Linked DNA regions of Homo sapiens: region 2 is linked to region 1. The links are contacts of gene promoters, found by promoter capture Hi-C in blood cells and fetal thymus (Javierre and others, 2016). All regions are on one chromosome and are shown on one strand. The core of a region is centred on a gene start or on the middle of the fragment in contact, and the rest is flanking DNA. Distances in the headings are between cores, read along the strand shown.

Evidence for each region. Contacts are between HindIII fragments. The CHiCAGO score rates a contact against its expected background, and 5 or more counts as called.
Region 2: a contact is called between a fragment that was not itself captured here and the fragment with the promoter of FAF1 in region 1, in 5 of 17 cell types (fetal thymus, activated CD4 T cells, non-activated CD4 T cells and 2 more). The highest score is 9.0, in fetal thymus.

The regions. Positions count from the first base shown.
Region 1 is chr1:50,958,124-50,963,877 of GRCh38, reverse strand. FAF1 (Fas associated factor 1) reads left to right here and starts at 3,611. Exons shown (of 19, transcript NM_007051.3): 1 at 3,611-4,111. The coding sequence starts at 4,067. It also overlaps a transcript of CDKN2C not described here. RefSeq lists silencers at 3,645-3,804, 3,915-3,964 and an enhancer at 4,275-4,324. The HindIII fragment of the contact is 1,270 bases long and covers 3,453-4,722 here.
Region 2 is chr1:51,727,896-51,733,186 of GRCh38, reverse strand. All of the region lies in intron 4 of OSBPL9 (oxysterol binding protein like 9), which reads right to left. Among named protein-coding and RNA genes, the nearest start is that of MIR761, 110 kb to the left of the region's middle. RefSeq lists silencers at 1,817-1,866, 3,072-3,121, 3,332-3,751 and an enhancer at 3,087-3,607. The HindIII fragment of the contact is 2,055 bases long and covers 767-2,821 here.

The sequences.
Region 1 (5,754 bases), core at 2,362-4,861:
CCAACTATGAGAATAGATAAATTAAAATTACTTTTCTTTGCTCGTGCATGGACCAAATTTCTTTACATTTCCTTCTTTTGGTTTATGACACTTAACTGAAATTGTTTCTCTTAAGGATGGAATTCTGGAGAAATGAAAAATGATTTTTTTTCTCCTAATTCAGTATTTATTTTTCTTCCCTTCTCTTATCTGTAGTAGATAACCACTCTGGATGCTAGGTATCCAACCATGAAGAGTTAGGCCATAGGGAAGAAACAGTGTCTTTGGGAATGGTATAAACTAAGCAGCATGGAAGGGAAATTGTACAGAGGCAACATGGTAAGTGGAAGGAGCACTAATTTGACCTAGTCTTGAATCCTAGGTCTGTCACTCTGTAGCATGACTTTGAGCAAATTCTTAACTTGCCAGAGCAGCTTTATATTCTGTAAAGTAGTAGTTGTAAATATTAAATGAGATAAAGTTTGTAATGTATCTGTACATAGTAGACTCCCAATAAAAATTAATAAATTCAAAAGCATTTGCCATCTGTTATGTTCACAAGACTTTGCTATGTTTGCACTATGGTGAATATAAAAACACATGGCATAAAGCGGTTTATAATCTCAAGAAACTTTCAACCTTTGGGGGGAGATTAAACATACATATATGAAAACAATTAGAGAAAAAAATTACAAAATTTACTGGAGCACTAAGTTGTGTTGTAAAGATAGTAAAAGCAGTAATTAGAAAGGAGAAAGATCCTTACTGGCTTAAATTTTATGAAAGGGGTGGTCCTGAGAAAAGCATTTAGGAATTGGTATACAGAGTAATAACTAATATGTTTGGAGAGTTTTAAGGTTTATGAGGAATTTTCACAAGCATTTGATCATTCAACATTCAAAATCACAAGCTTTTTAGCCCAATTTTAGAGATAAAGAAATAGAACCAGAGAGCCTTTGTTAAAGAGCAGAGTTAGAACTCAAACCACAATTATTGACTATTAAATTTATGTTAGTGTGATACCAATATTTTATATTTTCCATGCATTTTCATAATTGTTTTTTCATTTATCAGAGGAAATAGTCCTGTGAGTAGCTGAAGTCAGAGAGATTAAATGACTCATCCAAGTTCCCTCAGCTAATTATTTGGAAAAGCAGTACTAATATATGCCTGAATGTCTAGTGTGTTCATCCCATTGTTCTACATACCACATTGTTTTAATTTCCAGATGGAGAGAAAGGAAAGAAAAAGGGAGCAACATGGGATTTGAATGGGTTCTGAGGTACACACGCATCATTACAGAGAAAAACTCTCAACTTTTTAGGACTGCATTAATCCTTGGCCATATAACTAGAAACAATTATTCACCTGCCTTATACTGAGGGTGGCCTATATGAATGGGGCAACTGAATTGCCACATTTATATTATTGGTGCTGTGTTTTGCCTCATGATTCACATTTGTGCTGACTTTTGGAATTACTTTCTTTTTAAAAAAATATTTATTTATTTATTTTGAAACAGTTTTACTCTGTCACCCAGGCTGGGGTGCAGTAGTGTGATCTTGGTTCACACTGCAACCTCCACCTCCCAGGTTCAGGTGATTCTCCTCCCTCAGCCTCCCTAGTAGCTGGGACTACAGGCATATGCCACCATGCCCAGCTAATTTTTGTATTATTTTTAGCAGAGATGGGATTTCACTATGTTGGCCAGGCTGGTCTTGAACTCCTGACCTCAAGTGATCTGCCTGCCTCGGCCTCCCAAAGTGTTGGGATTATAGGCATAAGCCACTGCCCTGGCCATGGAATTATTTTCTTACGGCTGAAAATTAAGCAAGACATTTTGATTCATGTGACTGTGGAGGGTTCTATTATCTAGCTAATTCTGGTCTAAACACAGATTAGTACTTAAGAACTGTAGGCCAGCCTATTTTCATTTAAGGAAACACACAGAATAAACTCAGATCATAATACAGTGCACTTCTTTATATTCAGTGAAACTGAACAATTAGGTCATATTTCTGATTTCTCATGAATATATTCCCAGTTTATGGAGCCTAGGCCTTGCTGGGTGTGGTGGTATGGCTCACACCTGTAATCCCCACTCTCAGGAGGCTGAGGTGGGAGGATGGCTTGAGCACAGGAGTTGGAAGCCAGCCTGGGCAACATAGTGAGGCCCTGTCTCTAAAAAAGTAAATAAATGATACAAGTTTAAAAAGTTCTTAAGGGAAGCCTAGGCCTTCATGCTACATGATGATTTCACTAGTTATTTTAGCTCTACAGGATAAAATCAGCAATCTTACTTCACATTTTCAAGCTTTTACATACTTTCCAAAGCAAGTAAATGCCCCATGACAATCCAGAAGCTGATATTTTCCCAAGTCAAGGATGAACAACTTCCACTGTCACACTTTCTCTAACCTGGACGACAATTACAAACTGTCACACTTCATTGTACATAGTCTTTGGCTGTTTTAGTTACAGAGGTTGTCAATTTCTGACCATGGGTTGAAACTTTCAATATTTGGTGAATATTCCAAAATAATTTCTTATGAAAATGAATAGGCCGGGTGCAGTGGCTCACGCCTGTAATCCCAACACTTTGGGAGGCCGAGGAGGGCGGATCACGAGGACAGGAGTTCGAGATCAGCTTGCCCAACATAGTGAAACCCCGTCTCTACTAAAAATACAAAAAAAACTTAGCCGGGCTTGGTGGCGGGAGCCTGTAATCCCAGCTACTATGGAGGCTGAGGCAGGAGAATCGCTTGAACCCAGAAAGCGGAGGTCGCAGCGAGCCGAGATCGCGCCACTGCACTCCAGCCCGGGCCACAGTGCGAGACTCCGTCTCAAAATAATAAATAAATAAATAAATAAATAAATAAATAAAAATAGACTGACTATATTCAAAGCTGGATTCAAGTTTTATCCCATTTGTAAGATGTCTCAGCTTAAAAAAACAAATATAACTGCAGCAGTAGAAAGGTTTTCCCTTTTTTCCCCCTTTGGAGCAACCCTATTAACTCGAGGTTGTTATTTCTCATAACTACCTTATCAATTAAAAAAAATGCTCCTCCTCTTCTCTGGAACGAGATTTTTACCTTTCTCAGCTTCCTCGTCTCTCCCATGTCTACCATGGCAGTCTGGTTACTTCTGTGTTACGGAGTCTGAGGATGCAGACGTCAGGGAGCTTGGGACTGGGTGTGACAGTGTGGATTCGGTTTTGACAGGTTGAGCGTGAGAGACTATATGAAGCTGTATTTTGCTGAAACATTGTAGAGAAAAACATATATTTCTGAAATGCTGTTTGTTAGACGAGTTGTAACAGTGTGTTTAGTTGGTTTGTGAGGGTGGTGTGTATTTGTGTGACTAACCACGTGAGGTGCACAATCTGGTCCCCGCCTCAGCTAGGGGGAGGCGCTATCCTGAGGCCTTTGCTTAAATCCAAACTGGAATAACCTGTTGCGAGACTTGAAGCTTCCGCAGCTGCAGGTTGCAGTCTCTGCCGCCAGCGCAGAGATCCTGGCCGGGTAGTCGCGCGCTCAGCGCTTGACAGGAGGGTGGTCACGTGGAGCCGCAAAGCGGCGCTTTGCGACCTCGATGACAGGCAAAATGTGCGACAGCCGTGGCGCTGGCCAACCAGGGGCGGAGGCGGCGGCCAGGGAGGAAGCGGAGGAGGCGGAGGCGGCCGCGGCGTTCGCCCGCCCGCTCGCTCGCTCGGTTTCCCCGCCCCCGCCGGGCTTAACGCCGCTGAAGGTATCCGGGTGCGCGCTGTCGCAACCTGCCCTCATCCTGGCCCGCGACTGTAAGACCGGACCCACATCCAGACCAATCTTCCTGTCCGGGCTGCTGCGACGCGGGCTCCGCAGGTTGCAGGCGGGCGGCCGGGGCGCCTGAAGGTTACCGAGTGCATGAGCGCCTAGCGCTTCCCGCGCTGCCCCGCCCGCTGGCCCGCCGACCCGCCCGCCGGCTCGCCCGCCAGCCCCTCGGCGCCCGGCGGCGGCGGCGGCGGTGGCGGCGACGGTCGCAGGAGGTGCCGTCTGCCTCCCAGGTGCGCGCTTCGCTCCCGGAGCCGCGGAACTCGGCGGCCGCCATGGCGTCCAACATGGACCGGGAGATGATCCTGGCGGATTTTCAGGTGAAGTATCTGGCCCTCTTCCCCTCCCACTTCCAACCTCGTGGGTTTCCGGTGCCACAAGGGAGTCTTCTTCCCAGCGTTTGAACGCTGCAGTGGTGTGTCATTTAGGCTTTTATACGGTGCGTGGCGTGTGTGTGTGTGTGTGGCGAGCTATGGAGAAGCGTATAATTTATATGCTATCATGAGTGTGTAGAATGTGTTAAGTACGGGTTGAATGGGATTGGAGGTATTAATGACTTGGGTTACAATGTGTGTGGAATGTGTAGTGTTTCCTGTATTATATGGGGGGACGTGTAGAGTTTTTGTTTTAATTGGTGTTGGACCATTAAGTATGGGATGTTTTGGGTGGTTCTGTGGGGAGAGATGTATGGAGTGTGAGCGTGGAGCGTGTGGTGTTATGGGCGTGGTGTATTTATATTGTATTAAGGGAAGAGTAAAAAAGCAGAATGATGAGATGGCGAGGGCAATGACAATGGGGTACTGAGGTCCTTTTCAAAGAGGAGTAAACATTTGAGACTTTGCCTAATTGGAATCTTTGGAGGGTAAGAAGATAACAAGGAGACAGATAAGACTATATATTCCAGAGTATCTCTGCAATGAATTCACAAGCTTAATAAATTACCTATTCATATTTGCGGATTCCCCTCCCCTACAGACTTGAATTGCTTGGTTGGTGTCCTTTCTCCAGGAATACTTTAAAGGATAAGTAAAGGCTGTTCTCTTAATAAACCCAGTCGTAGTGCCACTGACATGTAAGTATCTTAGGAAGGCCCTTTGAAAGTAGAACTGTATGCATTGTGAAAGACTTGGAGCTAGAACTAATATCCTGTGAGTGCTACCTTTGCCTTTTGATGTTTGGTGAAGGAATTATTTTAGTGAGATATTTTTGGCCATTTTGGCATCAACTTAGAAGCTACTGTCAAGTATAGGCAGACTTTTCCCTCTTTTTTAATACTCACATTGCACAGGTTCTAACACTAGCTTAGTAGGCAGTATTTTTCCTTGCTGAAATTTTGTTGGGCTTTTCTCTCTCTCTGTTCTATTAAGTTCCTTATTTTTTTTAAAATTAATTAATTTTTTTTTTTTTTTGAGACGGAGTCTCGCTCTGTCGCCCAGGCTGGAGTGCAGTGGCGCGATCTCGGCTCATTGCAAGCTCCGCCTCCCAGGTTCACGCCATTCTCCTGCCTCAGCCTCCCGAGTAGCTGGGACTACAGGCGCCGGCCACCACGCCTGGCTAATATTTTTGTATTTTTAGTAGAGACAGGGTTTCGCCGTGTTAGTCAGGATGGTCTTGATCTCCTGACCTCGTGATCCACCCTCCTCGGCCTCCCAAAGTGCTGGGATTACAGGCGTGAGCCACACTGCTCCCGGCCCTTATTTTTACAAATTAACGTTCAGATAACCATTTTCAGAGTTTGCTGTTTTGGTTACCCAGTGAAATCTGATATACAGGTATTAGGAATATGCATATATCTACAGTTTGATTAAACCATAACCTCCAAACTAATAAAGGAGTGTCCTTATAATAAAAGTTGACCATAAGATTTTGATGTTTTGTAGGTTTAGGATTGGCCTGAGGCTTTTTGCCTGCCTACATTTTAAAAAATTTTTCAATTAATTAATTAATTAAATTTTTTAGAGAT
Region 2 (5,291 bases), core at 545-3,044, 770 kb before region 1:
TATGTTTAAAAATTTACAATACAACTTAGTGAAGGCTGTGATATGGAGATATGAGCAAAGTGCTGTAGTAGCACACACAAGAGTAACAAACTCACCCTGCCTGAAGGAAGGCATCATAGAAAAGGTTAACACAGGAGCTGTATGCTAAGGAAGAACTGGAGGCTTACCACTTGAGATACAGTGGGGTAATCTAAGCAAGAAGGAAAGGCTGTGAAAAGACAAATAACTGTGAGAGGCTATGGCATGTTCTCAATGAGAAACAGTTCACAGTGGATGCCGTGGGTAAAGCACCTGGAGCTGAGTCTGGACTCAGAGATAAATCAGGACCAGAATATGAAGAAGGGCCTCCAGGACATGCTGGGCAGCTGGACTCTGGCAAGGAGGAGCCAAAACACATTCTTAACTATAAGAGCGGCAACCCATTCCAAATTTGTTTTTGGATAAAAAGGATGGGGTAAGGGGAGTCCAGTGACAGACTAGTCAGAAAGCCTTGCAAAAGTCTAGGTGAGAGACCATGATGGCCTGAATTAAAGCATTATCATCTAGAAAAAAGTGACGAATCTGAAAAATATTACTAAGGCAAACATAACAGGACCTGGTGACTGGAGATGGAAAATAAGGAAGATGGAAAGTAGCTTTAAATGCCTGTGTGTGGTAGAACTTCATTAAAATATTTAAGGAGGAATACGTGGCTTAATTACATTGTCAGTATAAGAACTATTCTTTCAAGCTTAACAATCTTTGTTTAAACCTTTACTGAAAAGCTTCCTAAATATAATTTTCTAAGTATACTACAGTAATCACAAAGTCTTTTTTCTATATAAGAATCATCATAAATATCTGTTTTCGCTCTACAGTATAAAGTTTAGCTACAGATAGAACTCAACATACCCCAGGGGACATCCTAGAATTTGCTTCTCTGAACAAAAGCCTGATTATCAGATTTTCTTGTCATCGTCCCCTTTCTTAATCAACAGCGTGCAAACCATGTGAGTGCCTGACTTTCCAACCAGCAGAACATGGTGCTAACAAAATAATGCTCTTTCCTGGCTGAACCAAACTTACAGTTAAATTCCCTACTAATCTTAATATCAACAGAGATTGAAGTGGGGATGGCTGAGCGTACAAAATATAATAATCTTTTCACATTAAAAAACATTTGAAAAATTTCACATTAAAAATATCATAGAACTTTAGAAATACCAAAATGAACGTGACCAGTAGACAGCCTTTGCATCCTCGTATTTACTGAAGGGCACTTCCAAATTCATCGTCATCTCTGTCAAAGCCAAACTCAGGGCACTTTGTAAACAGATGAAACTTGTCTGTTGTCTTTCTTGTTTCTCACTTAAGCTCTCAAATCAGACTACAAATCTGTTTTTTTCTTTAAGAGTTTTTTTTTTTTTTTTTTGAGACAGACTCTTGCTCTGTCGCCAGGCTGGAGTGCAGTGGCACGATCTCGGCTCACTGTAAGCTCCCCCTCCAGGGTTTATGCGATTCTCCTGCCTCAGCCTCCCGAGTAGCTGGGACTACAGGCGCCCGCCACCACGCCCGGCTAATTTTTGTGTTTTTAGTAGAGACGGGGTTTCACCATGTTGGCCAGTCTGGTCTCGAACCCCTGACCTCAAGAGATCCGGCCGCCTCGGCCTCCCAAAGTGCTGGGATTATAGGCAGCACTGTAATTACAGGCGTGAGCTACTGCGCCCGCCTTTTTGTTTTGTTTTGTTTTGCTTTGAGACAGAGTCTTGCTCTCTGTCATCCAGGCTAGAGTGCAGCGGTGCAATCATAGCTCACCGCAACCTCAAACTTCTGGGCTCAAGGGATCCTTCCGCCTCAGCTTCCCAAGCAGGTGGGAACACAGGTGCACATCACCACCACGCTCAGCTCATTTTTAAATTTTTATTGGGGCAGGGGCGGGGGGAAGGTTCTGGCTTTGTTGCCCAGGCTGGTCTCCAGCTCCTGGACTCAAACAATTCTCCCGCCTCAGCCTCCCAAAGTGTTGGGATTGCAGTCTGAGCCACCACGACTGGCCCAAATCTGACTTTTAATCATACACCTTCCCTGAACTAGAAAAGGTAATACGGTATTTTTATTTAGGTTGTCTCTTGTCGGGCTGCACAAAAAAAAAAAGGTGGGGGGGAGTAAAGCAATATATTTAAAGTATAAATAAATGACAGGTGCTAACAGTATTCATTAAAGGGTTTCATCAACTACTTAGTTCAATACAGGCAGTGTTCAAGAGAGATTATTCATAATTAACTACGTGAGAATTTCCAGTTTCAAAGTTCACTGTAAAAACTTTTAAAACTACAACTACTATTCTAAGATGCTTCCAGCTTCTCCACTGAGAAACTAGGAATTACTTGATTTTAACTTCCTTAATACAGCTAAAAGTAAACAGTTTAATCAAAAAGCAAAACAAAGTATTACTTCAAATTAGCAAAACTGGTTTTCTTGTTCAATACATCTCTCAACCTTTCATAACAAATACTTATAATACAGTATGAATGTCAGCAAAAAGTGCATTACTCAAATATGCTTCCTAGTCCATTAATTATACTCAACTTTCCATAACTCGGCTGGGCTAAGAACCCCATAAAACTATACCAAAGTTTTCAGTATTTTTGCACAAGCTACCCAAAAAGCGTAAAATCACCTCCTTCCCGACACACATACTCAAAAACAATAGCATCCGTAATTACTTTATACACAAAAAATACAGGGCCAGGCACGAACACCGTGCCAAAAATAAACCACCACCAAAAAACACTTGGCCTGCAACTGGAGATTCTATTAATGGGCAACTGGTCAAAATTAAGCTTTCACATAAGAGAAAGCTTAACTTTTCTGCTTAAAATCATATTCTGAGACAGCTTTCAAAAGGAAAACAGAGTTCCACAAAAATGAATAGAAAAAAAGAGACCTCCTCCAAAGTCTCATTTGGGGGCGAATGCCCTCTCGGTGGAACTGGAGGCCCTGACCTCAGCCTCCACCCCATCTAGGCTGAGGAACTGAGAACTCCCAAGGAAGAGGGGCCCGGGCAGCCACGTCGTCCTACTCACCCCAGGGGGCGGCGGGAAGGAGGCAGGGTGAGCACGACATTCGCGCTCCGGCCTGGCGGCCGGGACCCCGGGGACTCAGGGGTAGGGGCCGGCCCCTCTCCCAGACCCTCGGGGTCTACTCACTCCGCAAGTGGCCAGCAAGAAAGCCATTCGCCAAGGCCCCCGCCCTCTGTGCCTCCAGGGGAGGTAGCCGGGGGCTGCTCCCGAGCACCCCTTTTTCTTCTCCCCTCGACCCGATCCCCGGACTGCGGTGCAGGCGGTCCTGACTGAGGTTCAGCCCGTCCCCCGGGACACCCCCTTCACCCCCTTCACCCCCCACCCCTTTCCCGTCCCCTCCCCGGCGGAGGGGTCGCCCCGATTGGCTGGCCCTGGCGGCTCCTGGCAAAGAGACCCCTGGCGATTGGCCATGGGTCACCTGCTGTAGGAGGTGAGAGGCAGACGATTGGCGGTTGGGCCAGTTTTGGGTGGAGAGGCCGAGGGAGCTGGCAGCTCGCGGGAGGGGTGCGCAGCGGCGGGAGGGCGTCCGGAGCGCCCCGCCCAGACCCGCGACCCAGCCGCCTCCGTGGGGGGCGGGGGTTCACCTTGGGGGAGTGCGCCTGGGGACACGCGGCTTCTGCGGCGCCGGCGCTGCTGGGGGAAAGGGAGGTTGCGCTCTGGGACGCTCAGCCTGGTTTCGGGGCTTCAGCCCCGCGGATTCCCACTGGGTAGCGGCTGGAGAAGGGCCCGCGGGCGCCAGCGTGCCTCACCTACACCCACCGGCTTCTAACGTGCCATCCAGTTTATGGCAGCTGTGGAGCCTGGTCCCCGGAGTTTCACCTTGATAACGGATTTTGCTTACTTCCGGAAAGTTGTGTCGCGTGGGGGTTGATGGAGTGAGGGGAGGAGGAGATACTATATCGGTAAACAAAAGCGTGAGCGCCTATATTTTTATTAATCCGGTGAGACATCGTGGGCTTGCTGTTGTGCCACAGCTCCATAAGGAATGTAGGTGGCTTGTAAAGATGCTTCAGGAATCCAAATGGCGCAAACTGCAGATTATATCAAAAGTCTGGACTTAAGAGGACCTCGACAGAGAATCACCCAAAATGCAGGGAATCACAAACATAAGTGATTAACTTATTGATCTGGAGGACTAGCTCCTTTTCCGCTCTTGCTGGTTTTTCTTATGGTTAGGTATCTTCCTATCCCGCCCCCTTTCAGGACTCTACTAAACGTCCAATTATCTTTTGTACTTTTATGTCTCTACTGGTACCCACTGCAAGACCTAGCACAGGGCACACTGCACAAACAGCGCGATGCTGGCCAGGCGCGGTGGCTCACTCCTGAAATCCCAGCACTTTGGGAGGCGGAGGCTGGGAGAGGCGGGGGAAGGAGGGAGGATTCGAGGCCAGGAGTTGAAGACCCCAAAAACAACAAAAAAAGGTGCAATGCTTGCTGAATAAATATGCTAACCTGCTGGACTCAGTGTTAAAGATACCTTCAGTTTGTTGTATGTAAATCACTTCAAAATGCCCAACACCAGATGCACTCTCCCCTTCCCCCTACCCACTCTAAAAGCTGGGTACTCTGCCAGGGCTCCCTGTCTCAGTAAATGAAACTGCTATCATCCACCCTAATACGCAAACCATAAACCTAGTAGTCCTCCTAGACACCTTCCCCATTTCACATTCAGTGCATCACCAAGTTCTGTCATTTTTACCTCCTAAATACACTCTCCATTCTGTCCATCTCTCTCCATTGCCACCACCCTATAACAGGTCCTGGCCTGTTGGAATAATCTTACTAAAGTCTTCTTGAATCTACTCTGGCTACTCCAATTCATTCTCAACACTAGAGCCAGAGCAGTATTTCTATAACCAATTTTATTACCCCTTCATTGCCTCCCCCAATTAAAGAACTTTAACTGCTTTCCACTGAGTTGTGCTTAGGATACAATTCAATATTTAACAATGGCTGACAAGGTTTAGCCTTACCTACCGCTTAGCTCCATCTTTTACCTTGTAGTACCTATTTTCTGCTTTGCACACAATGGCCTTTTTCAAACTCCTTTAATTTGCCAAGGACTTTCCAATTTTAGGGCCTTGGCGCATGCTGTTATTTCTTTTATACTGTCCCCTTGACATCAATCCCCACACTTCACTTATTTACTTCTACTCATCATCATTTCCTCCCTGCCAATGTCAGTTCTTGCTATCTTACATCGTCATAGCCCATGTAACTCTCCTTTGT